Regions from separate parts of the Homo sapiens genome. Here regions 2, 3 and 4 are each linked to region 1. Evidence: promoter capture Hi-C in 16 types of primary human blood cells and fetal thymus (Javierre and others, 2016). All regions are on one chromosome and are shown on one strand. The core of a region is centred on a gene start or on the middle of the fragment in contact, and the rest is flanking DNA. Distances in the headings are between cores, read along the strand shown. Region 1 holds the start of GAB1 (GRB2 associated binding protein 1). Region 2 overlaps GAB1 (GRB2 associated binding protein 1). Region 3 overlaps SMARCA5 (SNF2 related chromatin remodeling ATPase 5). Region 4 overlaps USP38 (ubiquitin specific peptidase 38).

Evidence for each region. Contacts are between HindIII fragments. The CHiCAGO score rates a contact against its expected background, and 5 or more counts as called.
Region 2: a contact is called between a fragment that was not itself captured here and the fragment with the promoter of GAB1 in region 1, in 8 of 17 cell types (naive B cells, total B cells, M0 macrophages and 5 more). The highest score is 9.3, in naive B cells.
Region 3: a fragment that was not itself captured here is called in contact with the fragment with the promoter of GAB1 in region 1 in 1 of 17 cell types (neutrophils); the score reaches 12.1 in neutrophils.
Region 4: a contact is called between a fragment that was not itself captured here and the fragment with the promoter of GAB1 in region 1, in 6 of 17 cell types (neutrophils, erythroblasts, megakaryocytes and 3 more). The highest score is 12.6, in neutrophils.

The regions. Positions count from the first base shown.
Region 1 is chr4:143,333,177-143,339,506 of GRCh38, reverse strand. It overlaps GAB1 (GRB2 associated binding protein 1), which reads right to left and starts at 2,631. Exons shown (of 10, transcript NM_002039.4): 1 at 2,247-2,631. The coding sequence starts at 2,318. It also overlaps the pseudogene LOC124900789. RefSeq lists enhancers at 1,892-2,705, 3,615-3,824 and silencers at 2,735-2,784, 2,855-2,914, 3,015-3,314, 3,255-3,422. The HindIII fragment of the contact is 8,165 bases long and covers 1-6,330 here.
Region 2 is chr4:143,474,023-143,481,027 of GRCh38, reverse strand. It overlaps GAB1 (GRB2 associated binding protein 1), which reads right to left. Exons shown (of 10, transcript NM_002039.4): 10 at 6,463-7,005. Among named protein-coding and RNA genes, the nearest start is that of SMARCA5, 36 kb to the left of the region's middle. The HindIII fragment of the contact is 2,419 bases long and covers 2,918-5,336 here.
Region 3 is chr4:143,528,640-143,535,921 of GRCh38, reverse strand. SMARCA5 (SNF2 related chromatin remodeling ATPase 5) reads right to left here. Exons shown (of 24, transcript NM_003601.4): 8 at 7,208-7,282; 9 at 5,396-5,464; 10 at 958-1,067. Among named protein-coding and RNA genes, the nearest start is that of SMARCA5-AS1, 17 kb to the right of the region's middle. The HindIII fragment of the contact is 500 bases long and covers 5,783-6,282 here.
Region 4 is chr4:143,199,699-143,206,623 of GRCh38, reverse strand. USP38 (ubiquitin specific peptidase 38) reads right to left here. Exons shown (of 10, transcript NM_032557.6): 5 at 3,058-3,216; 6 at 398-591. Among named protein-coding and RNA genes, the nearest start is that of USP38, 18 kb to the right of the region's middle. The HindIII fragment of the contact is 1,441 bases long and covers 4,872-6,312 here.

The DNA of each region.
Region 1 (6,330 bases), core at 1,382-3,881:
CGGAGTCTCACCCTGTCATCCAGGCTGCAGTGCAATGGCACAAACTCTGCTCACTGCAACCTCCACCTCCCAGGTTCAAGCATTTCTCCTGCCTCAGCCTCCCCAGCAGCTGGGATTACAGGCGTACACCACCACGCCCGGCTATTTTTTGTATTTTTAGTAGAGACAGAGTTTCGCCATGTTGGCCAGGCTGGTCTCCTGACCTCAGGTGATCCACTGGCCTCGGCCTCCCAAAGTGCTGGGATTACAGGTGTGAGCCTGAAGGACCTTTAGAGATAACCTAGTCTAAGCTCCACATTTGAAATGAACTAGGTGAGAGTCGTTAACCTTTTACAGTCCAATCAATCAGGCAGATCTGGGTTCAAATGCAGGACTGTTTTCTGTAAAATAGAGATGACACCTACCTCAGAAAACAGTTGTAATGATCAAATTATACTTTCCTTTTTGTTTTTCTTGTTAAGACATAATCTTTTTGGCTGATTTCTTTCCTGGTTAATAGTTCAATTGAATTCTAAGCCCAAGAGGCAGGGCTTTTTTCCTTTTTCCTACTGTATTTTGTGACCTTATGGTTGGTGTCTAATACAGTGCCTGGCGTCTTTTGAGTGAGCCATGAACTAACCATGTGAAAGAATGAATTAAACCTATATTATCACTTTCACGTTCAGCAAATATGTTATTCTTTAATTCCTCCAAGAATCTGTTTTTCCTAAATTGGGCCTTCTCAAAACAAATATATTTATCTCCCTACCCCTTTCTCCCTTCCTTCTCTGTCACATACACACACACACACACACCCCTACCTTTCTCTTTAGAACAGCTGGAAAAAAAAACACTGCCTCGTTCATATTTTTGGAATAAAGTTAGCATTTTTACTAGGATATTCAGGAAAACTGATAGATGGACAGGATTTGGAGGCATTACACATCTCTGGAGAGCTTTCTTATGATTTGTGGCATCGAGTCTTTCAATAAAATTACTTGTCTATAATAAATTCTGGCAGAAAGTAAATCAGAAATTCACTGGTGAGTTGTCAGTGAAGTTAAATACTTCACTCTGTGTACTTCACTCTGTTCTATACAAGCAAACAGTGACTAACAGGATTAACCTGAGCTCTAATACTGGGTGTAGATATTCCTCAACGACAAACGGGTTCCCTTCGTACAGGCATTAAATTTATATTATATTTAAGGGGGCATAAATTTTGCTTTTGCAAACACATTTTACTAGAAAAATATTTGATCCAGATGTCAGCACAAAAGTGTCATTTCTTTCCTTTGCAAGGGAGCAGCAACAAAACAACCAATGGGGAGGAAGAATAAGATCCCAGACCTCTGAAGAGGACACAGGTTTCCACTAAAGCAAGGTTGATACTTTCAAGGAATATTTTTCCTAACAGCTAAAACGGTTTAACACATAGCATCTTGTATCAATTACACAAACACCATTAAAGCCACTCTGGTTCCCTGGGAAAGGACCGCAACTGAAATCCCTTCTGGCTTCAGCTGTCCCCTCCTGCCGAGTTTGACAGCACATCCAAGGCGCCCAAACACCAGCCACTAGGCTCCCCCCCAGCGCCCTCCTCTCGCAGCAAACCGCCAAGGCTCCCGGGCCAAACTCCAAAGTCCCTCAATTCAAAACCGCGAAAATGTGAACCCTGCTAAGCAAACGGCAGGGCGCGTAATAACTTTTCTTTCTTTCCCTTTTGCGCGCGTTCGATATGCTTGTCTCTACTACCAACTCCTCAGCTCCACAGCCCGCTTCCCGCAACCCATCTCGAGGGGCGGAGGAGAGGGAGCGCCCACCAAAGAAAGGGCTAGTGAGCCCTAAAACCTCGGCAGTTTTCCCGGTGCGGGAGCTTTAGCACACATCAGCCCAATAATCAGATGCAGGAATAAAGCAGGAAGAAGGCTCCTCTCTCCATCGCACCCCATCCTTCCTAAGGAAGAAAAAAAGCATGCAGCAGGAGTTTAGCTGGACGTCTAGGTCCTTTTATGGGGCGAACAGGCCCGCAAAGCAGGCTGTCTGGAACCTGGAGGAAGAAAGTTGTCCGGCCAAGTGGATGCCTGGGCGTGAGGGAGTGCAAGGCACCCTGTCCCGAGCCCGCCAGGGGTAGGGGCCAAGGGGAAAGAGACCGGCATTCGTTTAAGAACCAGCCCCGCGCGCGGCCAGCTGCAGCCGCCGGCGAGCCGACTGGGGAGGGGTGTGGACGCCGAGGCCCGCGGAGTGGTGCCCGCAGCTCTACTTACATAACGCTTCAACTTTTTCTCCGGGGGGGACTTGCGGAGCCATCCGGAGCAGACCACTTCACCACCGCTCATGGTGCGCGCGTCTCGGGCTCCGGGCCGGGCAGCTGAGGGGCGGCGGGCGCGCTCCCGACACAGCCGACGCCTGCCGAGCGCGCAGTGGCGAGAACCTAGCTCTCCTGGTCGCGCACCCCGGACGGACTGGGCGGACAGACTCCACGGTGCGCGGGTTCCACGAGTTCGAGTCTCTCCTCTGCAGGCCCACGAACCTGAACAGAACGCGAGCCGGGGCCGCGGGCGCGCCGGCCTCCTTTCAGTGCGCCCGCCTCGCCTCCAGACGTGCCGTCTCGCCAGCTGCCTCAGCAGCGCTCGGACTCAGCGGGACTCTGCCCCGACTCGGTGCCGGAGCTTCTGTCCTTTGCGCTCCGCCCCCTAGGGACAAGACCTCCCCAGAGCGCTTTCCGAAACAGACACAGCGCTGCTCACACACACACACACACACACACACACACACAATGCCCCGCGCGGTGCCCGCTCGCCCGCCCACCCGCCCTCGGTTTCGATGCGCCCGGAGCGATCCTCCTTCCCTCTCCTCGGGGGAGGGTGGGTCACTTCGCGGCGCTCGGTGAACGCCGAGGAAAGGGGAAGCCGCGAGCCGCCTACGGGCAGCGGGCGCGGGGCTGGTCCCGGGTCACAGAGGGAGCCGCAGGGTTGGCAGCGAAGCGCGGGGCGTTTCTGAGCGGCGGGCGCAGGGAGGTCGCAGGTCAAGCCGGAGGGTGGGTCCGCTCTCGCGGCCGCCGAAGAGGGCGGGGAGCAGCAGAGGAACGAGGCGCTTGGCGGCTTGGCTCCTGGGAGGGATCCCGCTGTCCCGTCCCCTCGCGCTCCTCCCCCGCCGCCTCCCCCACCCCGGGGCTCGCGGCAGGTCCTGAGCGGCTCGGCCCCAGATCCCGATCCCTCCCTCCCTCTCCCGGCCGCCGGGCTCCTTCTTCCTCCCTCTCCTCCTCCCCTTCCCACGTTCAGGCCCGGCTCCGGTTTCTGCCCAGACTTTCTCTGAAACTCCGCCGGAGTGCTTCCAGCCAAAACAACAAGGGCCGGGGGAGGAGACGGACGAAGGGAGGGAGCAAGGGAGGGAGGGAGCGCGAGTCCGAGAGGCACCCTGGGATCTGTAGTTCGGGAAGCAGGAGCAGGGTCCTCCGCCGTCCGGCGGCCCCCAATCGGCTCCTCGCCCGGGAAGACCGCAGAGGCCTCGGCTAGGGCAGAGGCACCGGGGCTTGGGCGCGGGGAAGACTGAGGGACATTCGAATGTTCAGTCCGGGGCTTGCCATCTTGACTCAGCCCGGTGCCAGCTCGGAGCTTGTGCTGTGCTCGAGATCAGGAGTTTCGAGGGTTTTCTTTACTTGAGAGCCTGAAAGGCAAAACCGCGGGGAGACCACCATCCTGCCGGTCCCCGCCGCGCGAGATTAAAGGACAGACCAAGAGGGCGCGGGAGCTACCAGCTTGGAGGGGAGGACAGATGGGGACCCAGGGCTGGCCAGGGCTGGTCTCTGGAGCTGTTCTGCCAGAGTGATGGGGGCGCTTGGCGAGGCCAAGGATTTGGTTGGGTCCTATCTCTGAGACATTTTGAAGTCTCACACCCCTTCCATTTGTTGCCTATTCCACTTAACTTTGTATTTGTTTGAAATCTACTGTTCGGATGCTGGACTAGAAGAGGGACACTTGGCCGGGCGCGGTGGCTCACGCCTGTAATCCCAGCACTTTGGGAGGCCGAGGCGGGCGGATCAACTGAGGTCGGGAGTTCAAGACCAGCCTGACCAACATGGAGAAACCCAATCTCTACTAAAAATACAAAAATTAGCCGGGCGTAGTGGCGCGCGCCTATAATCCCAGCTACTCGGGAGGCTGAGACAGGAAAATAGCTTGAACCCGGGAGGCGGAGATTGCGGTGAGCCGAGATCGCGACACTGCGCTCCAGCCTGGGCAACAAGAGCAAAACTCCGTCAAAAAAAAAAAAAAAAAAAAAGAGAGAGAGAGAGAAAGAAGGAAGGAAGGAAATTTACTGGGTACCCTAGTTCTATTTGCCTACTTCCTTGTGTGTTTCACAATTATTATACTGGTCCTGAGTTTAACATGATTCTGTAATAAACATCTTCTCCAATTTATTTGTGAAAAAGCCCCAAAGCCAATTTCAGCAGATAATATAATCAGATAAAAGTGCTAAAAATATGACGACATAAATGAGCATTTCTGGAAAGACATAACTTCAGTCATTTTCTTATTAACACAACATTCATATTCTGAAGCTCCTCTGAGTTTGAAAATGTTAGATGATTGTAATAAGAAATTAGGTGCTGGAGTGGTGACAAGACAAAGATCCCTGCATATATGGAGGTAGTGGCATAGGGTAGTAAGCAAATAAAGAGTCAACAAAACTACAGATTGAGACTCAGTCTCAAAAAAGAAAAATCTGAAAAAGCCTGGTTCCCACTGGGGTTTAGAGACCGTCATCTTTTGGCAGGCACTTAACAGTATCACAAGGGCGGAACTTCTTGCAGATCTGGATGCACTTTTCAGGTCATCAACTGAGTAGTCGTGACCTTGGGTAAATTACACAATGTCTCTGAGTCTCAGTTTCCCGATATGTGAAATGGGAATTGCAACACCGATTTTGCAGAAGTTTAATGAGAAATAGAAATGGTAGTGTTGGCCAGGTGCGGTGGCTCACGCCTGTAATCCTAGCACTTTGGGAGGCCTAGGTGGGTGGATTGCCTGAGCTCAGGAGTTTGAGACCAGACTGGGCAACTCAGTGAAAACCCGTCTCTACTAAAATACAAAAAATTAGCCGTGGCGGCGTGCGCCTGTAGTCCCAGCTACTCGGGAGGCTGAGGCAGGAGAATCGCTTGACCCGGGAGGCGGAGGTTGCAGCGAGCCGAGATCGCGCTACTGCACTTCAGCTTGGGCGACAAAGCGAGATTGTGTCTCTAAAAAAAAAAAAAGAAAAGAAAAGAAAAGAAAAGAAAAGAAAAGAAAAGAAAAGAAAAGAAATGGTAGTGTTGGTCGGTTAGTCGGGCGCGATGGCTCGCGCTTGTATTCCCAGCACTGTGGGAGGTCTAGGTGAGCAGGTCACTTGAGGCCAGGAGTTTGAGACCACCCTGGCCAACGTGGTGAAACCCAGTCTCTACTAAAAACACAAAAATTAGCCGGGTGTGGTGGCACGCGCCTGTAGTCCCAGCTACTCGGGAGGCTGAGGCAGGAGAATCGCTTGAACCCAGGAGGTGGAGGTTGCAGTGAGCCGAGATCGTGCCACTGCACTTCAACTTGGGAGACAGAGCGAGACTGTCTCTGAAAAATAAATAAATAAATAAAAAGGAAAATGGTAGTGTTGGTTGGGCGTGATGGCTTGCACTTGTAATCCCAGCACTTTGGGAGGTCTAGATGAGCAGGTCACCTGAGGCCAGGAGGTCGCGACCATCCTGGCCAACGTGGTGAAAACCCAGTCTCTTCTAAAAACACAAAAATTAGCTGGGTGTGGTGGCGCGTGCCTGTAGTCCCAGCTACTCAGGAGGCTGAGGCACAAGAATCACTTGGACCCGGGACAGGGAGGTTTCAGAGAGCTGACATAGGGCCACTGCACTCCAGCCTGGGTGACTGAGTGAGAGTCTGTCTCGAAAAAAAGGAAAAAAGAAATGGTAGTTTTAAATATCAGGCACATATTAGATATTGTAGGATTTTTGCTGTTTGTTGCTGTATTTCTTAATGTTCTTTCTGAAACATAAACAAGCGTAATTTTTATGGCAGCTAATAAACCAAAGCACTTCTTTTTAAGTATGTGAATATAAATCATGCCACAAATCTTCCAAATGAAAATAAACCATCAAATTTGTTTTCCTCTTCTCCCATAGGCAGCATGTAGCTACATTGAGCCAAAAGTATAATTAGCATTAGTAAGACTAGTATTGTTGAGTAGTTAACTATTGGCTTTAGCAAATTTACCATTTCCTACACTCTTGTTATAAAGTTCTTTGTAAATGGAAAATTGTAATATATCTTGTATTATTTAGCTTTGGGAATTTCCACAAATTTTTTTCTT
Region 2 (7,005 bases), core at 2,878-5,377, 140 kb before region 1:
AATGACAGTCTTTCAAAGTGGTTGTGTTAATTTGACCCCTACTAGCACTGCATGAGATTAATTTACACATTCTTAGCAATGCTTCGTATTGGCAGTCTTTTTAATCATTTGAGTGGATGTGCAGTAGTATAACGTGGGTTTTGTTTGCATTCTCGTCTCCTGCCCCTTTTTGAGTTACTGCATTTTTCTTACTGATCTATAGGAGTTCTAAATATAATCAGTTTATGAATCATTTGTTAATTTTCCCACTGTGTGTTTTGCTTTTGGTTATTGTAACAGTATCTATTGATGAGTAGATGTTCTTAACTTTGATATAATCCAATTTGTCAATCTTTTATTTTTTGGTTAATTCCTTTCTGGTCCTCTTTAAGAAACCTTCTTTTTTTTTTGAATCATGATAAAATTATCCTGTATAAGCTTTGTTATTGTTTTGCCTTTCACAATTATATCTACAGTTCACTAGGAATTGATACTTGCTTATAATATGAGTCACAGGTCAATTTTCTTCTTTTATTTATATGGATATCCATGTGGTCCACATTGTTTTCCACTGCTCTGCAGCTACTGTGTCATAAATCAGTGTCCATATATACGTGGTTCTGTTTCTGTGTTCTCTTTTGAGTTCCTTTGGCATACTTTTTCATCCTGGTACCAATGTTACTTGCTACATCTTTATAATAAGTTGTAAATCTTATAGAGTACTTCTTCCACATTGTTATTTTTCAAGAATATTTTGGCTATTCTTGGTCTTTTGCACTTCCATAGACACTTAAGAATCAGCTTCTCAGGTTCATTTAAAACAAAAACAAAAACAAAACAAAAACCTGGGATTTTGAATGACATTGCATTGAACTTAAAGATCAACTTTGGGGAAAACTGATATCTTCACAGCATTGAATTACCCCACCCATGCACATCATATACTCTTTTTTATTCCTCTATTTTGACTTTATTCTTAATATTTTATAGCAGAGGTTTTGCACATACTATTTTAAATGTGTTTCTGATCAATTCTTTTGATGCTATCAAAATTTCATATTCAAATTGTTACATACAAAAATTGATTTTTGTATGTTAACCTTATTTCTAACAACCTTTTACCTGTAGATTTATTTCAGCTTTCTACATACACAATCATATTATCTGTGGATAACAGCTGTTTTATTTATTTTCTCAAATTCTTGTAATTTTCCCTGCATATGTCCTTCAGTACAATACTGAATAGAAGTGGTGATAATGGACATATTTGTCTTGTTCCAGGTCTCAAAGAGAAAGTTGTCAATATTTCAGCATTAAGTGTCAGGTTTGCTGATAAATGTTTAAATATTCTTTTTTTCATAAACTTCCCTTTTATTTAATGTTGCTAAGAGTTGTTCTTTAAATCATGAATAGATGTTGAAGTTTAACAATTTTCTGCATCAATTGAGATGATCATGTGATTAATTCCCCTTTATTTTATTGATAAGAACCTTGCATTCTTGATTTACCAGGATTTATTTGTTATTTCTTAAATGTTTGGTAAAACTATTTGTTTCTTAAATGTTTGATAGAACCCATCGAGATGTTATCTAAGCTCAGAGTTTTCTTTGGAAAAAGGTTTTTAATTATAAAACTCATTTTAGCTGATATAGAACTATTCAAATTTCTTTTCAGTTTTAGAAAGTTGTCTTTTCTAGTGATTTGTTCATTTTATATAGTTTTCAAATATATTGGCCTAAGGTTGTCCATAATCTTTCTCGTTATCATTTTAATGTCTGCAGTATCTGTAGTGATATCCTGCTGTTTTAATCCTGTTAGTTATATGCAAAAACAGGATTATACCCAGGTTACATAGTCTTAATTTTTACACCAATGGTCTTAAAGAACCATTCATGACATCAAATATTCTTTTATTGCAAGAGCTAACATTTTTTTCAAGTAGTAAAACCTATTTTTCAAATAAAACCTTATACTTTTCTTCCAATGTACAAACAAAAATGTGAAGGTACCGTAATTAAAACAAGGATGAAGTGAGACTGGATCTCTCAAATACTTGATCTACCTTTCCTTTTTGAGGTCTCCCCTGTTGGAAGGACATGGTTTTAAAAATTATTATTCTATATTATAAATTGCTATATACATGTGTATGTACAACTTAATTTCCTCTCCATTGTTGGATAAGCCCCTAATTCGTTGGAGACAATTTTTTGTGATGAATTCGTTAATGCTAATTGCTTGAAATGTAATTGCTAGGTTAAAGGCTAACTACAGTTTCAAGACTTTAAAATCGTATGTATAAACTGCTCTTTGAAAAAGTTGAGGCTGGGCGTGGTGGCTCACGCCTGTAATCCCAGCACTTTGGGAGGCTGAGATGGGTGGATCACCTGAGGTCAGGAGTTTGAGACCAGCCTGGCCAACACGGTGAAACCCCATCTCTACTAAAAATACAAAATTAGCCAGGTGTGTTGGTGCATGCCTGTAATCTCAGCTACTTGGGAGGCTAAGGCAGGAGAATGGCTTGAACTTGGGAGGTGGAGGTTGCAGTGAGCCAAGATCATACCACTGCACTCCAGCCTGGGAAACAAGAGTGAAGCTCCGTCTCAAAAAAAAATTAAAAAGTTGTACCAATTTATGCTCCTAGTGGTATAGATGATAGTGTCCTATCACTCACATCTGTATCAATATTGGGTATTATCATTGAGTATTTCAAAATATTTGAAGGAAAATTACGCAGTCTTTAAAAATAATTCAGATGCTTAACACCTAGGAAAACATTTATGATAATAGTTAATGCAAAAAGTAGAGTCCAGCTGCACATTTAGGCAAAGGTAGGGAAGTAACATGGCTTGTGGGCATTTTTCTTCTTACTCTCCCAAATTGTCTTTAATTACAGTTTTACAATGCGAAAGTAGAAAAAAAATTCAGAAAGCAACAAGCTTGGCCCCTGTGTCAGCTCAAGAGAATTAAGCCACGCTAGTAATTTTTAAACGACAGATAATTTAATGCAGATTAAAATCACACCACTCACTGGTAGGTGTGAAGGCTCTTTAGGAAGGATTCTCAGAACAACGCTACGGAGCTGCCAGACATGGGAACAATCGGGAATCTGGGTTCAGGAAACCACTGCACCAATGGTTGAAACCGTAATACCTTCAGAGTACAGTAATCTACCATGGCAAGTATTGGCTCCAAGCATACACCACTGCAAGAATTGCTTAGCAGGAATCCATTGCTTCACATCCTAAATGCAAACTGCGAGATTTAATATTGATGCCTCACAGACTTCTGTCTCTCCACTGAACTGTTTCTGAGATTAAGCAAGTATCACTGGTGAAAAGTTAATTACAAGCAGCGCCCTAGTTGCAAGGAAGTCTGGGAAATGTAGTTTTTATCTTTACAGCTTCTTAAATACAGGAGGGTACTCCAGAGAGAGGTTGGATCAGCTGTTCAGCAAGCCAATCTTCTACAGATGCTTCATGTCCATGAGGATGATCAATAAAAGATTAACTGACTTACTGGTCTGACATGATGACAGATAATGAAGATTGTTAAGGATTTTCTCTGTTTGCTGTACCTGATTTTCTCTGTTTGCTGTACCTCCACCCTTCTCTGCCTTCCCAAGTGCCCTGGGAGACTGACTTCTATGTATTACATATTCTGGGTTCCCAGCCTTTCTGGGGGCTGGTTGGTTTTAGCCAATGGCAAGCTGTGAGAGAGGTACCCTGGTTTCTTCACTGCTGGTCAGCATTTGATAGTGTGTGTGTCCCTTTACCTAAGATTAAAGTGTCTGTTGGCAGACTGTCTCCACCAGCTACAGCTCTTGCTGGGTGTAACAGCTTCCTCCACTTGCCTCCTTAGTTCTAGAAGTGGTAATGGCTTCTCACTGCTGCTAGTCACTTACCGTTGCTCAGGATTTTACTTTTTAAGAAATGGGGTCATTTTGCTCTGTCACCGAGGCTAAAGTGCAGTGGTGTGATCATAGCTCACTGCAGCTTTCAACTCCTGGACTCACACAATCCTTCTGCCTCAGCCTCCTGAGTAGCTGGGACTATAGGTATGCACCACCACATGCAGATTACTCAGGGTTTTTAACCATTCCTTGTTGGCTCCCTTAACCCTACCCATACAATAGTCCCTTCATTCAACTCTCCTCAATTACTTCTTTGAGTGTGCCATCTTTTCCTGCTGGGAAAAGTTAACATAGCCAGGCAGATGAGACATAAACATAGCCACAAGCTCAGAATGTGTCAGGTTTTTGGAGATAGGGTTGTTAAAGAAGTAATTAAGGTAAAATTATTCATTTTACCTAATCTAGTATGACTGATGTCTTTATAATGAGAGAGCAGAACCAGGGGTGCCAACACAGAAAAAAAGACCATCTGAGGACGCAGTGAGAAGATGGCTATCTACCAGTGAAGAGACCTCAGAAGAAATCAAACCAACGCAGCCTTGATGCTTGACTTCTAGCCAACTGACCAGTGATAAATTTGTAGTATGAGGACTACATATGTATTACATTGAACAGCAACTGTTCAATAGTTTTATAAGAACATACATTGAAACTCACAGACCTAGGTTTAGAACTGCCTCCTGACTTCTTGTGGCCTACTCTTTCCATGCTTTGGGTTATTGTTCTGACATTTTCAAGTCCTTAATTACCAACACACTTGAGTTTCCAAGGTCTTCCATCCTTGGCCTCATCTCTCAACTCTTAATTTTGCCTTTGTGACTGCTAGCATCTTAGATGGCTCCCAGTGATCCTTACTTCCTGGTATTCATACCCTTGCAAGTCTCCTCCCACAGTGAATCAAGGCGTGAACTGTACAACCCATTACTGCACAGCAGAGATGACAGTGTGTGACCTCTAAGGCTAGGTCATTTGTTTGGTCTCTGGGATCACTAGCTTTGGGGGAAGCCAGCCCCCATGCCTCAAAGATACTCAAGCAGCTCTGTGAAGCAGCCACATGAAGAGGAACAAAGGCTCCCAGCAACAGGCAGCACCAACTTGCCAGCCATGTGAGTAAACCACCTGAGGCAGATCCTTCAGCCCTAGATAACTCCAGTCTCAGGTAATTTGACTGTAATTTCAGTAGAGACTCTGGACCAGAACTGTTCGGCCAAGACACTCCTGAATTTCTGACCATGGAAACTGTGAGAATAGATGACTTTTTAAAGTCACTACATTCTGATTACACACCGTAACTAATACAATATTTCATAAGCCTCCACCCAGTACATAGTTCTCCATATTCTGCTTTTGTCTTTTTCTTTACCTCTTCTCATGAAACAAACCAGTAGCAAGCCAACCTTCTTGCAAATCCTCCATTGTCCAGCTCAATCTCCATCTTTGTGAAGCTTTTCTTAAATACAGAACTTTGTTTTTTCTTTGGTAGCTCATAGTTGGTACCTCAGAAATAATAACTTACTGTCCTGTATTATTTTTTCACACATATTTGTAAAGATAAAGATGAGGTAGATTTCTTTCATGTTTCCCATAGCACCTTGAATAATTCAACATGTGTAGCTTAGTGAAATGACTAAATTATTAATAAGCCACCATCAATTAGAATCAAAATCTGGGACAACAGTATTTTCTTCTTAGTCTGACTTTCAAAATTACTGTTTTGTCTAAGGACCGGAATAAGCAACTTTCAAACACATTGTTTTAATAAGGCTGATTAAAAAACAGCTTTAGATGTACATGGGTAATATGTTTTAGAAATTTAAAGCAGGGAAAACTAAATAAATGTGTAGGGTCATAGCATGTGACAAGGGTGAAGAGGTGAAGACTACAACCCAGTGTTACAAATGAAATTCTGTCCTTAATAGTATTCTGTACCCTTTGTGACAAGAATCCAATAATCTGTGTTCTTCTTAGAATACTATTTTCCATCATTGGAGATGTTGATTTAATGGTTCCTAGAAGATAAAAAGCTATGGCCAGAAGTGGAAACATGGTTCACTGTCAGTAAATGGCTTCAGAAGAAACTTTTGGAGCAGACTGCTAACACATTGCAAATTAAACTTCAAAATCATTGCTTGGTATGAGAGGCACTCAGATTAATGACTCAGTATGTTTATCAGTCATGGTTCTCCAGAAAAACAGAACCAATAAGATACACATATCTGTAAGATAGCTATATATTCTTATATACCAACACTTACATGTTTTATATGTGTTTTGAAGATATATATATACACACACACACGGGGGAGATGGAGAGAGACAGAGAGAATTAGTTTTAAGAAAGGCTCCAGGATTGTAAGAACTGGCAAGTCTGAAGTTGGTAGGGTAGGCCAGCAAACTGGATCAGGTAAGAGGTGATGATGCACTCTTTAGTTCAAAATCTACAAGAAGGCAGGCCAGCAGGATGGAAACTTAGGATTAATTTGTTATGATCTTGAGGCTGAATTACTTCTTTTGGAAACCTTGGCTTTTGCTCTTAAGGCCTTTAGCTGATTGAATGAGGTTCAACAACATTATGGATGAGAATCTGCTTTACTTAAAATCAACTGATTGTAAATGTTAATCACATCTACAAAATATATTCACAGCAACATCTAGGCTAGTGTTTGACCAAACACATGGGCGCCATAGCCTCACCAAGTTGACACATAATATTAACCATCACAATACCATATCTGATAAAGTGGGTTTTGGGTATTATTTTAATTTTTAAATTTCCTATATCACTGTATGTCCCTCGCACAGAGCACTCCAAATGTTCCAAGCACCTCATGGAACACAAAATCAGAGGAGACGCATTAAGTGTTAATCACCAATAACCATAAGTAATAGTAATAAAATCTTTTCTAATGAAGTATAGAAACATCTTAGAAACTTAATTTTCTGTAGGTGTTCCTTTATTTTATCAAAAATAGTAATTTTGTATAATTTTAAATCAGGAAATCTAAGGGGACATGTTACCCAATCACAACAGCTAATAAAATGCCTCCCATTACAGACCCAGCTTTTTAAATATTCAATAACATTCACAGAATTGGCAAGTTAGTCTCCAAAAAATT
Region 3 (7,282 bases), core at 4,783-7,282, 190 kb before region 1:
GGAGGTATGTCTGTGAGGCAGGACTGTGAAGCTACAGCCATAAGCTAAGGCCAGATTATAAAAAGCCTTGAACATATACTAAGGATGTAGACATTGTTATGAAAGAATGAGTAATTTGTCTAAGCATCAAAGTTTTAGAGCCTTGGATCCTTTGAACAAAGTAAGTAGCCTAGGCAATCTATGCTTAAACAACAAGGCAGACCTTTCCATCTCAATTCTGATATAAAGTTCACTCAAATGTTTAACTAAAAAAGATTTGTCTTTCCTTAGCATTGACTCATCTTAGTTCTGTTTTAGAGCCATCCAAGGTAAGCCTAATATCTGCTACCCTTTCAGAAGTTTTTGAGGACATTTAGGACCAACCACCTTCTACAGATAACCTCTTACCCAGATAACATGCCCAGTTCTCTATATGATATTAAGTCCTTTAACCAAACAACTCTGGCCTCTTGCAAATACTTATCAAAATTTAAGTATGCAGTTAAATATACATGAAATATGATGAGACCAGTAAAGAAAAGGGTAGCTATATTTATTTCCTCTCCTTTGAACACTACATTTACATTAAGGCCAACAGTATCTTTTTCTGCAGCTACTTTACACTGACCCAGTATTTATGAACTATAAGTGAACCATATATCTCCCACACTGTGCTATCACAGTTTCCTTTTTAAAAATCCCAAGTAGATGGTTTCATATGAACCCCGTTTAATTAAATCCCAATTTTAATTTTGGATTCATAAGCCTTCCATCCTGATTCTGTCATCTAACAGGTTCAAAACTTTCTATAACGAACTTAATGAGCAAGTCCTATACTACGTGACAAGAAAACTCTTTTCAGGTTGAGTTCAATCCAGCAAATTGGAATTCCATGAAGACACAAATTAGGAAAACAAAATACACATGAAATTTAGGGAAGAATCAATAGTGCTATCAAGTACATCTGAGAATACATACCATTCCCTTTGCATTTTGCTGAGGCCCACATAGATTTTTACTTCCTTCTTTGGAGGCAAACTCTTTTCAACATCAGCCTTAATTCGACGAAGGAGGAATGGACGCAAAACCTTAAAAAGGACAAAAATAAACAGGTAATACCAATATTACACATAAGGTCATATTTCAGCATCTTAGAATTGTATATAAAATACATGAAAAAGAAATTTCTCTGCGTGAGTATCAAGTGATTTCTTAGGACTTCTCCCTGCAAATACAGTCATATCTCAGTATCTGTGGGAGACTAGTTCCTGTCCCCTTCCCTTTGAATACCAAAATCCACAAATGCTCGAGTCCATTATAAAAAATGTAGTATTTGCATATAACCTACAAACATCCTCCCATATACTTTAAATCATCTCTAGATTACTTATAATAATAGTTAATGGAATGTAAATGCTATGTTAATAGTTGTTACACTATACCGTTTAGGGAATAATGACAAGGAAAAGGTCGGTATATTTAACACAGATGGAACCATCTATTTTATTTTTATCTTTTTTGGGGACAAATATTTCCAATCCATAGTTGATTGAATCTATGGATGTGGAACCTATGGATATGAAGGGCTAACTGTATATAATTTATTACTACTGGGTTCCTGAAGGGTAGTAATACAAGACCATTACTTATTCAATAAAGGCATACCTCAGAGATATTGTAGGCTCAGTTCCAGACTACCTCAATAAAGCAAGTCACATTTCCCAGTGCATCTAAGAGTTACATTTACACTATTAAGTGTGCAATAGCATTATGTCTAAAAAAAAAACAACGTACACACCTTATTTTAAAAGTACATTATTGCTTTAAAAATGTGATACATTATTTAAAGCAATACATTACTGCTTTAAAAACAGAGTAAACACATGCCGTTGGGAAAACGGTGTTTATTGATAGACTTCCTTGACACAGGGTTGCCACAAACCATCTATTTGTTTCGCAAAATAAATGTTTCTTAAAAATGCAGTATCTGTGAAGCACTGCAAAGGGTAATGAGATGTGCCTGTATATGTTTGAGTATATACTTGTTATACTACCATAAAATACTAAAAACAATAGTAAATTTTTAAAATGTTTTCAACAATTTGCTGCCTTTCAGGTCTAAAACTAGTTACTTGCATGCAGACTGTCTAACAGTGCCTAAGAATGGGCAAGGGTCGGGAGGCCGAGGCAGGCAGATCACAAGGTCAGGAAATCGAGACCATCCTGGCTAACATGGTGAAACCCCGTCTCTATTAAAAATACAAAAAATTAGCCAGGCGAGGTGGCAGGTACCTGTAGTCCCAGCTACTTGGGAGGCTGAGACAGGAGAATGGTGTGAACCCGGGAGGCGGAGCTTGCAGTGAGCCAAGATGGCGCCACTGCACTCCATCCTGGGCGACAGAGCTAGACTCCATCTCAAAAAAAAAAAAAAAAAAAAAAAAAAAGAATGGACAAGGGTCTCATTAAGATCTCCTTATGGTTAGTCTTTAAACTTAATGTACTAACTTAGGGAAAGAATATAAAAGTACACACTTCAATAAATCATGAGTGTACAGTTCTAGAAATTTTATTCAAGTACTGTAAAAGTACCCATGTTATTACCCAAATAGAACACTCTAGAAATCATTTTTGTGTCCCTTCCAATCACTATCCCCTCTTTTCCTTCCCAAGGGTAAGCAATATTCTTATTTTTAGACACCATAAATTAATTTTGCCTATCATTTTTAACTTTATATACATGGACTCACTCAATATGCACCCATTTATATCTGGTTTCTTTTATTAAACAATGAGACATTTCCATGTTATATGTAGTAGTAGTTCACTCATTTTCATAGAACAGTAAGTTTTAAAATTAACTACACAACTAAAGATACCCTTTTTTGTACCTCTGTTCTATTTACACTGGTTTTTAAAAATAGTGACTATATCACAAACCAAATTAGACATTAGTGGGAAAAATACCAGCAACACCTCTCTAACATCACCACGTAGAAAAGCTAGTTCAGCCCTAGTCAACAGGCGGCAGCAACTGCCAGATGTGTAAGTGAAGACCTTTAGCCCCACCGGTTCTCTTCTAGCATTGTCCAGCTAAATAAATGTAACTGGATAACCCCAAGTGTAATCCACAAAGAAACCATCCAGTCAACCCATAAATTCTGGGGTTGTTAATAAAATATAAACTATGAAGTGTTTTGGAGGTGGGGGAAATAAGGGGGTCTTAGTAACCCCTAAAGGGGGGTTAAGGTGTTTTTGGGGGGTGGAGGGAATAAGGGGTTCTTTTGCAGCATTAGATAACTAATACATCAAATAAGAGTTATCTCATTCCTAAGCGCATCCATACCGACTTCTAAACCCTCCTTTCATTATAAGACCACAGGTGCTACTGTAGAAACTTCAAAGTAAAGAGCAGGAGAAAGTAGAGAGGTAGCTACAAGACCTCTTCTCCCTGACTTCATAAGCATTTTCAAAATACCCTGTGAACAAAACAGAGTTACCAAATCTGGTTGATACTGCTGAATGGGTTGTTCATTTGCTTTACCTAGATGTACCTACGTATTTACTAAAGGAAAGCCAAGAGCAGAGGAATAAGGGGAAAAAAATGCATGAAAAAAAATCATGTTCTTCTGCCTCCTTTTCTACCCCCAAGATTACATATACACTCCACAATCCTTGGTCTAAGTAAATACAAAGAGAGTGCTTAGATGCATGAATGCCATCTGAATTGAAACAAAGGTAGCTAGGAAATTACTACCTTCAAATATTTAACAAAACTCTCAATATTTAAGAATTTTAAAGTACTTTATAATGAAATATTTGAACAATCATGAACTTAAATTTTTTTCCCTGTTCAAATATCCACTCTAACTAGGCATTGTGCCAGGTATACAAAGACAAATAAATCTGTGCTTCCTGCCTTTGTGCTTACAATCCAGTATGGAAAACACTTGTGAATCATCTCAATATCCTCTGCAAAGTCCTATAATATTAGGATGCTCAGATTGTTAAAGATGGAATACACAGAAGGGCACCTAGGCCAGCCTCAGCCTGGCTGGTTCAGTGGAGGTGATGTCGCTGAGTCTTGGACTAGGTATTAGTAAAGAGACCAGGAAAAAGGATTCTAGGTGTAGCAAAAATGATAAGCAAAAATAGATTAGAATTACCACAATGTTTACAGAAAACTGACAGTGGGGTCAGCAATCTATCAAATTAAAGCTCAATATATGAAGAAGTAAAACAGATGCCAAAGAATGTTAAAAAGGTTAGGTCATGGAGGGGCACAATTTTGTTCCCCAGGGGACATCTGCAATGTCTAGAGAAATTTTTGGTTGTCACAACTGGAGGAATGTTACTACTGCCATCTAGTGAGTAAAAGTATCAGGGATGCTATTAAACATGCTACAATACACAGGACAATCACGTTCTCCCCTCTCTCCTTACCCCTCTCAGATATACCCAGACCAAAATGTCAAAAGAGGCTGAGAATTCCTGAGTTAGGTCATTAAGGGCTTTATATAACATTCTTACAAGCTCCTGCTTTAACCTGCTTAGCAGGGTATTTTAATCTGGTGTCTGTTAGAGAAGTTTCTCTACCTACCAACTTTTACTTGTGAACCGTCACAGGAAGCTGTATGTAGAAACAAAGCTATACAGCAAGCAAAAACATACCAACTGTGCTCATAATGCAATATTAGCAGTTGTTTATACACAATGTAGCTAGATTTAAGAAAAAACAGATGGATCTTTAGCCCTTTCAAAAGTGAACCTGTTAGATTCTTCCATGGAATGTAAATTGAACTAAGCTTTAAAAACTTGTCTATTAAGGCCGGGCGTGGTGGCTCATGCCTGTAATCCCAACACTCTGGGAGGCCAAGGCAGGCAGGTTGATAACTTGAGTTCAGAAGTTCGAGATTAGCCTGGGCAACATGGTGAAACACTATCTCTACAAAAAATACAAAAATTAGCTGGGCATGGTGGCCAGAGCCTGTAGCCCCAGCTACTCTAGACGCTGAATGGGGAGAGACTGCTTGAGCCTGGGAGGCAGAGGTTTCAGTGAGCCAAGATCATGCCACTGCACTCCAGCCTGGACGACAAAGTGAGACTGTCTCAAAAACAACAACAAAAACTTGTCTATATTAATTATTATGCAATTCTTCTTCCCCCCACTGTATTTTGTATAACTGTAAGAGAATACTTTCTCCCTTAAGTCAGGATTCCATTCTAGGTTCTAACACTGAAACAACCACACATCACCCCCTACACTGATTGTAAGATGTAAGAGTTAAGTGTCAGAATTCAAGCAGATCTGATTCTTAAGCCATTGTGTTTTTTATTAACAGGAAAATAATCTACTAATTTAAACCTTTATCCTTTTTCCCATCATAAATATGCTTTAACACTACTCCAAAATACTTACCATATGAAGCCTCTCAACTAGTTTTTGATCCCCAAGGCAGTTGTTTGTATCAAACCAGGAATCAAAGTCCTAGATAAACAAACAAAAAATATACTCAGATCAGAGATAATATTAACAAATACCCTATAATACCAGATATAGAAATGATTTCTAGAATTAGTAATTTGAATTGTAACCCACAAAAAAAAATCACTTAGTCCAATCCTGGTTTTCATGTGTCATTGTTACTAATTTTAAAACAAGTAGTTCAGAAATCACACTACCTTCTAAACATTCTTCTCAAAAACATCAAAATAACAAGTTTCACAGTAAAAAGTTGGAGAGCAAGTTCTATAGGATTAGAAAATTAATATTCTTGTAAAGTATCTTTCAAGTTTCATAAAAGCTTGAAAATTAAAACATTTTATAGTTTGTTCTCTGAGACCATTCGCACTACTCAAATACAAGTTTACGAACAATGTCAATTTTAATCAAACTTACTAAATGAAATTGAAATTACCAGCATTTCATTAATATTTGGTTACGATTTCAACAAGGGCAGTTTCCCTAACCTCATCTCTTGAACATATGTATTATATATGTGCTTTGTTTTTGAGTAAACATAATCTTAGAATTCACTGCTTTAAAGTAAATGAAAGTGTCAATGTAGTGAGAAACAGGAATTATCTCAAAAACATCAAAATACATAAAATCGAAGCTAAAATTGCTTTTGGAGTCTGATTAAATATCTTTTTACAACACAATCTATTCTTTCAAAACAATCTTCAACAGAAAAAAAACAAAATTAATTAATACCTTTTTATAACTTAATTGTACAAAAATATACTAACATGGAGCTCTTCAAATCCCTCCAATACACATAAGACGCCAGCTATGCAAACAAAGCTTCAAAAATAAACACTGGTCCAGGCAAAAAAAACTGCAATTTCTAATAGCACAAACTCTTGACATAGTTATTATATTACTATTAACAGTTCAAATAGCTAATTAACCATTACTATCCTTTCTATGACTATAAATAATCCATAAAGATTAGGTTCTATTTGTTTGTTAGACTATAATATAAGAAAAGCCAGACAGATTTCACTAAATTTGACAGTCATCCTTGGGACTTAAAACATAAGCAATGTGAGGTATACAAATCACTTCAGGAATACCTTGAGCAGCACCTTAAAAACATAACCAGTCAACCTAGAGCCACTGAAACAAAGTCAGGCCAACCTGACTTACCAAATAGGAGTGACAATTTATGCCATTTCAGATAGAGAAAACAATGATTTAAAGAAGACTGAGGCCTGGTGTGGTGGCTCGTGCCTGTAATCCCAGCACTTTGGGAGGCTGAGGCAGGCAGATCGCTTGAGGCCAGGAGCTTGAGACCAGCCTGGACAACATGGCAAAACCTCATCTCTACAAAAAACACAGAAACTAGCCGGGCATGGTGGCACACACCTGTGATCTCAGCTATTCGGAAGGCTGAGGCACAAGAATCACCTGAATTCCGGAGGTGGAGGCTGCAGTGAGCCAAGATCACACCACTGCACTTCAGCATAGGTGACAGAGTGAGACTACGTCTCAAAAAAAATAAAATAATAATAATAATAATGAAATAAGATTGAAACCAAAGGCACAAAAGTAAATTCCCATTATACAGAGACAACCTAGGAGATAACACCAGGCTAACTATGTAAATAAAAGCATAAAAAATTAATAATAACCTCAAGCCATGCTAAAAGGCAGGCCACTTTTATTACAAAAATATATAGCATTAAGCAAAATATTATTATTAACCAGAAAGCACCAGGAAATACTTACATCTGCTGAATTAAACACATCTGGCAACAGAAAGTTAAGAAGTGACCACAGCTCATGCAAGTTGTTCTGAAGAGG
Region 4 (6,925 bases), core at 4,343-6,842, 140 kb after region 1:
CTGCCTCCTGGGTTCAAGTGATTCTCCTGCCTCAGCCTCCCGAGTAGCTGGGATTACAGGTGCCCACCACCACGCCTGGCTAATTTTGGTATTTTTAGTAGTGATGGGATTTTGCCATGACGGCCAGGCTGCTCTCAAACTCCTGACCTCAAGCTATCCACCCGTCTTGGCCTCCCAAAGTGCTGGGATTACAGGCGTGAGCCACCACACCCAGCCTAATGTTAACATTTTCATAGTTTCTGAGCACTAAAAGCAGTTTCATTTCTGAATAAGGCAATCAAAGTTAACATTTATGCCATTTATAAGGAATAATGTGTAGACAATTCTATCATCTTATATTTCATCAGCATGCATCAACTTCTACAGTTAAAATGAAAAGATTCAAGTTTAAACTTACTCTGTGGCCATAAACAAGGCTTGTATAACACTGTTCATATAACATGTATTTCCTAGGTTAATAAGACCAGTTTTCCCAGTTTCAGATTTTCCAGAAAGTCTAGACAAGCAAGACGCCAAAGAATTGGATTGAGAAGTCCAGGCACTTTGATTGAGAATTAACTTAATCTTCTCTTCACTGGGCTTAGGAAAATCCTATAGGTCATAAAGAAGAAAAACAGTTTAAAAGTAAAGTAAAAATTATTTTTGTTGTTAAATTAATTAACACCATTAAGAAGATTCTTACACCGACATTTGAACTTTCTTTTCCCCCACTTAGTTTTGAAGTAACTGGCAGTACTTGGCTAGTCATGAAAATATCAAATTTCACTGTATGGCAAAAATAAATATTGTCTAATAACAGATTTTATCAAGTTAAGGAATACTCAAAAGCTGGAAATTCAAGTCACATTTGAACTCTTTATGTTCTCTATATGCCAGCAAAATGTTTATAAAATAAAACTTTGGGGTCAGAGAATACACTGCAGTGCTATTCAAAGGCAGTAGAATGAAGACTTAAATTTTAGCACACAGTTAAACATAAGTAAACAATTTGTTTTCAAATTTTGTAATAAAAATGTCTCCTTTTCATTAAATACTAATATTTACTCAGTATTAACCCTTAGAAATAAAATCCCAAAGTAATTAAGAAATGAGAAATGAAAGCATCTATGCACAATGACCTTTAAGAAAAATAAAACTTAATCTCATGTTACCCATATAGAAAATTATTACAACATATGGATTTTTCTTATCAACTTTGTGAAGTATGAGATAACATTTCAAGTGTAAATTATTTCAAGCATGAATAGAGCACTGGAGAGTAAGGGAAGTTGGTAAAATCATTAGGGCTTATCTGGATTGCTATTAGCATCTGGCACTTAGACCTTAACAAACAAACATTTTCTGAAGGAGTTTCAATCTTCTCATTTTTGTTGTTGTTGACAGCTAAGAAAAAGTGCTTTCTTTGGGCTTAGAGCGAGCCCATTGTTTCTTCTGAGCCTATATGAGTTATCAGAATTTTCAACATGAAAAACTCTGATGAACTAAACAATGGCAATCAATTAACAAGTGCAGCAACTATCATCTATGGATCCAGGGACAATGTAGAAAGAGATTAATATTACCATCAAATCCACTTCACAATGCTCCTGAACATAATCTACTTCTGAAGTGTCAAAGTGTCACCCCAGCAATATACATTAATTGCTTAACAGTCTTTGTGTTCTGAGCTCAACCAAAATAAGTTTGATTTAGTTAATGATACAGTAAAAAGAACTGTTTTTAATCCACCTCAGATACAGAAGTAAAGATAATAAGACCTTTATGTTGAAATTCAGATCTCAAAAAAACCATCAATAGAATTGATTTCTAATAATTTCTGATTGAGTTTGGCTGAGTTCAGTTCTCCTATTCTTTTGCTATACACTGATTATGCAGTAAGTTTACTGAGAGGAAAGTATGTTTATTGTGATCCAGTCTTCAACACAAACAGAAGTGCTTTTTAGGCTAGGCACAGTGGCTCATGCCTGTAATCCCAGCACTTTGGGAGGATGAGGATCACTTGAGCCTAGGAATTCAAGACCAGCCTGAGCAACATAGTGAGGCCCCGACTCTACAAAAAATAAAAAGTTAGCCTGGCGTGGTGGTGTGCACCTGGAGTCCCAGCTACTTGGGAGGCTGAGGCAGGAGGGTCACTTGAGCTCAAGATGTAGAGGCTGCAGTGAGCCGTGATCATGCCATTGCACTTCAGCCTGGGCAACAGAGCAAGACTGTCCAAAAAAAAAAAAAAGTGCTTTTTAGAACCATTTCCATATAAAATTGAAACACAGTATAACTCCACAAATAATTCAAGTAAAGATTCGAAACATTGATGAACAGTCCACAGCAAAAATAGAATTAAAAAAGAGGCCAGGTGCAGTGGCTCACGCCTGTAATCCCAGGACTTTGGAAGGCCAAGGCAGGCAGATTACTTGAGGTCAGGAGTTTCAGACCAGCCTGGCCAACATGGTAAAACCCTGTCTCTACTAAAAATACAAATTAGCCGGGCATGGTGGCAGGTGCCTGTAGTCCCAGCTATTCAGGAGGCTGAGGCGGAAGAATCGCTTGAATCCAGGAGGTGAAGGTTGCAGTGAGCAGAAATGGTACCACTGCACTCCAGCCTAGGTGACAGAGCGAGACTTGGTCTCAAGAAGAAAAAAAAAAAAAAGATTAAAAAGGGGAAGAAATCAAAGTCAAATATTTTATTAAACTCCATTTCCTGTATTCTAAGATGTACTCTACATATACTTTAACACTTCTAATATTGGGGTGCAAATCTGATGTATGCATTAACTTAACGTAGCATTTCTTTTTAAACAAATTTCCCAAAAAGCTATTATAAATTTAAAGATATGCCTTATAATTGATGACACTGCAGAAATAAAGAAATATGGTTATTAATTTAGAATGGTGACTCCAGCAAGAAAGCTGTTACTCCCTAAATGAAACCTGATTCTAACTGCATTTTTCAAATAAAAAGCATATTACCATAAAATAGTAAATTGAGTAGCTGGTTATAAGAATGTTTCACCTTATTAATATAACACAACTCCACAAATATTGGTACAACTATCATCATACCTTTATTGCCTCCAGAATAGGTTCATAGAGATCTGGAAATCCAGAATAATGATACATCATACAGTGTATCAATTCTGTTAATTGTACTAAGAAGGCTGTACTTGAAGGCAGACCATCATTTTTGAAAGAATGAACCAAATTAACCACATGAGGAACAATCTGAAAAGAAAAAAGGATAAACAATGCTGAATTTATACAAATTGGTAACACATTCTCTAGCCTACAAACAGAACACAAACGATATATGATCAGCAGATACTTTTCTGTATGTGCAGTCACAGAGTTTTTCTTGTTATTAAGTTAAACATTTCTAAAATATCAAGGTAAATCTAGTTTTCGAAGTCGCATATGACTGTAATCTCATATATGACCCCTCTCCTCATCCTTACACACCATCTAAAACATAAACTAAGGTATAAAATAGGAATCTTAGTCATTGCCACCATTCTGAAAAATGCTGTAGGTTGAAATTGTTAGGGTTATTATATTTACCAGGTCATTCAATGGGAATAAACTTTTGAAAAATAATCCTGGAATTAGCTAAAGAGCTCCATCTAGTGTGAATCTAAAATTTTTTACTTGAAAGAATTAAAAGTACATTGCACATTAAAGTCTACTTCAAGAAAATCTTTACATGAGTAACTAAAATTGCAGCTCAGGTAATGGGATTACTTTTAGATAAGCACAGAGACCATGCCTTATGTTAGAGTGGCTATTCTTACTAACAAATCCCATTTCACAGCAAAAGATGAGATGGTTCTAAAAATAAAGGGCATCAGAAACTTCTGTTAGTTTTAAAGACCTGGGGCTAAAAATAAAAGTGAAATCTAAAATGATCATTGCTCATAAACATATAGAATATTGTTAATATTGATCATCAGCACAACCATGTTCTTTCATTGTAAAATTAAACTAAAAAGTCATCAATCCAGAGCCAATCATATCTTTAGGAGGTTATTAAAATGAAACAACTTCTATTTTACAGACATAGCTCTTTCCATTAGTATGATACTATATTTTTTTCAATTAATTTTTAATTATAATCTGATACTACATATTTACACTTCTTATGGTAAAAGGTATCTTCTGTTCTATTTGTAGAACATTTTGGGGTTGCTAACTCATGGTAAAAAAGTTATAACTATTAGGGTCGTACCATCAAACAGCAATAACAGCAATTATAGTAATAACCCACTAATTCCCCGTCCTTCCCACAAAAAGAACAATCATAGTCTTACAACACAGTGCTATTTCCATTCTGCTCTGTCTAGCTTTACATTTGTGCTTAAATCACACTGTAGCTTTTGCATTACCTTCTTACCTCCATCACAGGTACTAATGTGACCATAAAACTACCAGTTCCTAGTGAGTTCATTCTATTGCTATCATCTTTACATTTCTAAGCAAATATGAATTATACTTCTGTCGCATAAAGCCACATTTATCAGATATTCTCTTGCTAAAAGTCAGAAATCCAAAATTATTTTGTTTTCTCAAAGGTGAAGGGAGACAGAAGAGGCAAAAATTTTAGAAGTAATTATTAAATTTATAATTCCAAATCTGTCAAATTAGATTAGGTCTTTGTAATCAGGTTATATGGTTGTCTATTACTATATCTCAAATGGTCAACATTATCACGACATGGAAATAAGACTTAGTCTTTCACAGTTATACAGATATACTTCCAAGCAGGCTATTACTTTCTAAATGTGTGAAAGTTGATTTTTTTGAATAAGTGAAACTAAATGTTTCTTGACATTATTATAATACTAAAGTTTTTGAGGAAATGTATAAAACTTATTTAATTAGAAGCTTTGATTTTTTTTCTTTCTCCATTATTCCTATCTGCCATAGTGTCTGTTTAAAATAAATTTATTCCACTGGGTAAAATGCATAAGAAAAGCAACCTGACCCATAACACCACATATTCTAACATCAACCTTGGCTTGCCCTAAGATATTCTAAACTTATGATGAATTATGATGATGCTGATTCCAGATTATTGCTCATACTTAGCAACTCCTAAGCCCAAGTCCTTTACTGAGTTATTTGGAGTTATAGGTGATTTAACTACCACATTACCCACTACTAGATTAAGGAATGTCCTCAATATGGGCAATAAACATTAGAATGAATGATAAAGTTATGTCAGAGAATCTCCTTCCTAGAAATTTGGAAAACATCTTGAGTTGATTTTTGTATATGGTGTAAGGAAGGGGTCCAGCTTCAATCTTCTTCATATGGCTAGCCAGTTGTCAAAGCACCATTTATTGAAGAGGGAGCCTTTTCCCCATTGCTTGTTTTGACAGCTTTGTCAAGATCAGATGGTCATAGGTGTGCAGCTTCGTCTGTGGGCTGTCTATTCTGTTCCATTAGTCTATGTGCCTGTTTTTGTACCAGTACCACGCTGTTTTAATATACTACTGTAGCCCTGTAGTATAATTTGAAGCTGGGTAATGTGATGGCTCCAGCTTTGTTCTTTTTGCTTAGGATTGCTGTGGCTATTCAGGTTCTTCTTTGGTTCCACACAAATTTTAAAATAGTGTTTTTTTAGTTCTGTGAAGAATGTCATTGGTAGTTTGATTGAAGTAGCACTGCATCTGTAAATTGCTTTGGGCAGTACGGCCATTTTAATGATATTGATTCTTCCTATCCATAAGCATGGGATGTTTTTCCATTTGTTTGTGTCTTCTTGATTTCTTTGAGCACTGTTTTGTATTTCTCATTGTAGAGATCTTTCACCTCCCTGGTTAGCTGTATTCCTAGGTATTTTATTCTTTTTGTGGCAATTGTGAATGGGATCGCCTTCCTGATTTGGCTCCTAGCTTGACTGCTGTTGGTGTATAGGAATGCTAGTGATTTTTTTACATTAACTTCTTATCCTGAGACTTTGCTGAAGTTGTTTATCAGCTGAAGGAGCTTTTGCGCTGAGACTATGGGGTTTTCTAGATACAGAAACATATAATCTACAAATAGTTTCACTTCTTCTCTTCCTATATGGATGTCACCTATTGCCTTCTCTTGCCTGACTGCTCTGGCTAGGACTTCCAGTACTATATTGATTAGGAGTGGTGAGAGAGGACATCCTTGTCTTGTGCTGGTTTTCAAGGGGAATGCTTCTAGCTTTTGCCCATTGAGTATAATGTTGGTTGTGGGTTTGTCACAGATGCCTCTTATTATTTTCAGACATGTTCCTCTAATACCTAGTTTATTGAGAGTATTTAACATGAAGGGATGTTGAATTTATTGAAAGCTTTTTCTGCATCCATTGATATAACCATGTAGTTTATGTCTTTATTTCTGTTTATGTGATTTATTTGTGTATGCTAAACTAACCTTGCATCCCACAGATGAAGCCTACTTGATCATGATGGATTAGCTTTTTGAAGTGCTGCTGGATTTGCTTTGCAAGTTGAGGATTTTTGTATCGATGTTCATTACATCAAGGATAAGACTTAAATGTAAAACCCCAAACTTTAAAAACCCTGGAAGACAACCTAGGCAATACCATCCTGGACACAAAGATTTCATGACAAAGACACCAAAAGCAATTGCTACAAAAGCAAAAATTGACAAACGGGATCTAATTAAACTTAAGAGCTTCTGCACAGCAAAAGAAACTATCAACAGAGTAAACAGACAACCTACGGAATGGGAGAAAATACTTATAAACTATGCATCTGACAAAGGTCTAATATCCAGCCTCTATAAGGAACTTAAACAAATTTACAAGAGAAAACCCTATTAAAAAGCAGGCAAAGGACATGAACAGACGCTTTTCAAAAGAAGACATATATGCAGCCAACAAGCTTAAGAAAAAAAGCTCAGTATTACTGATCAGCAGAGAAATGCAAATCAAAACCACAAT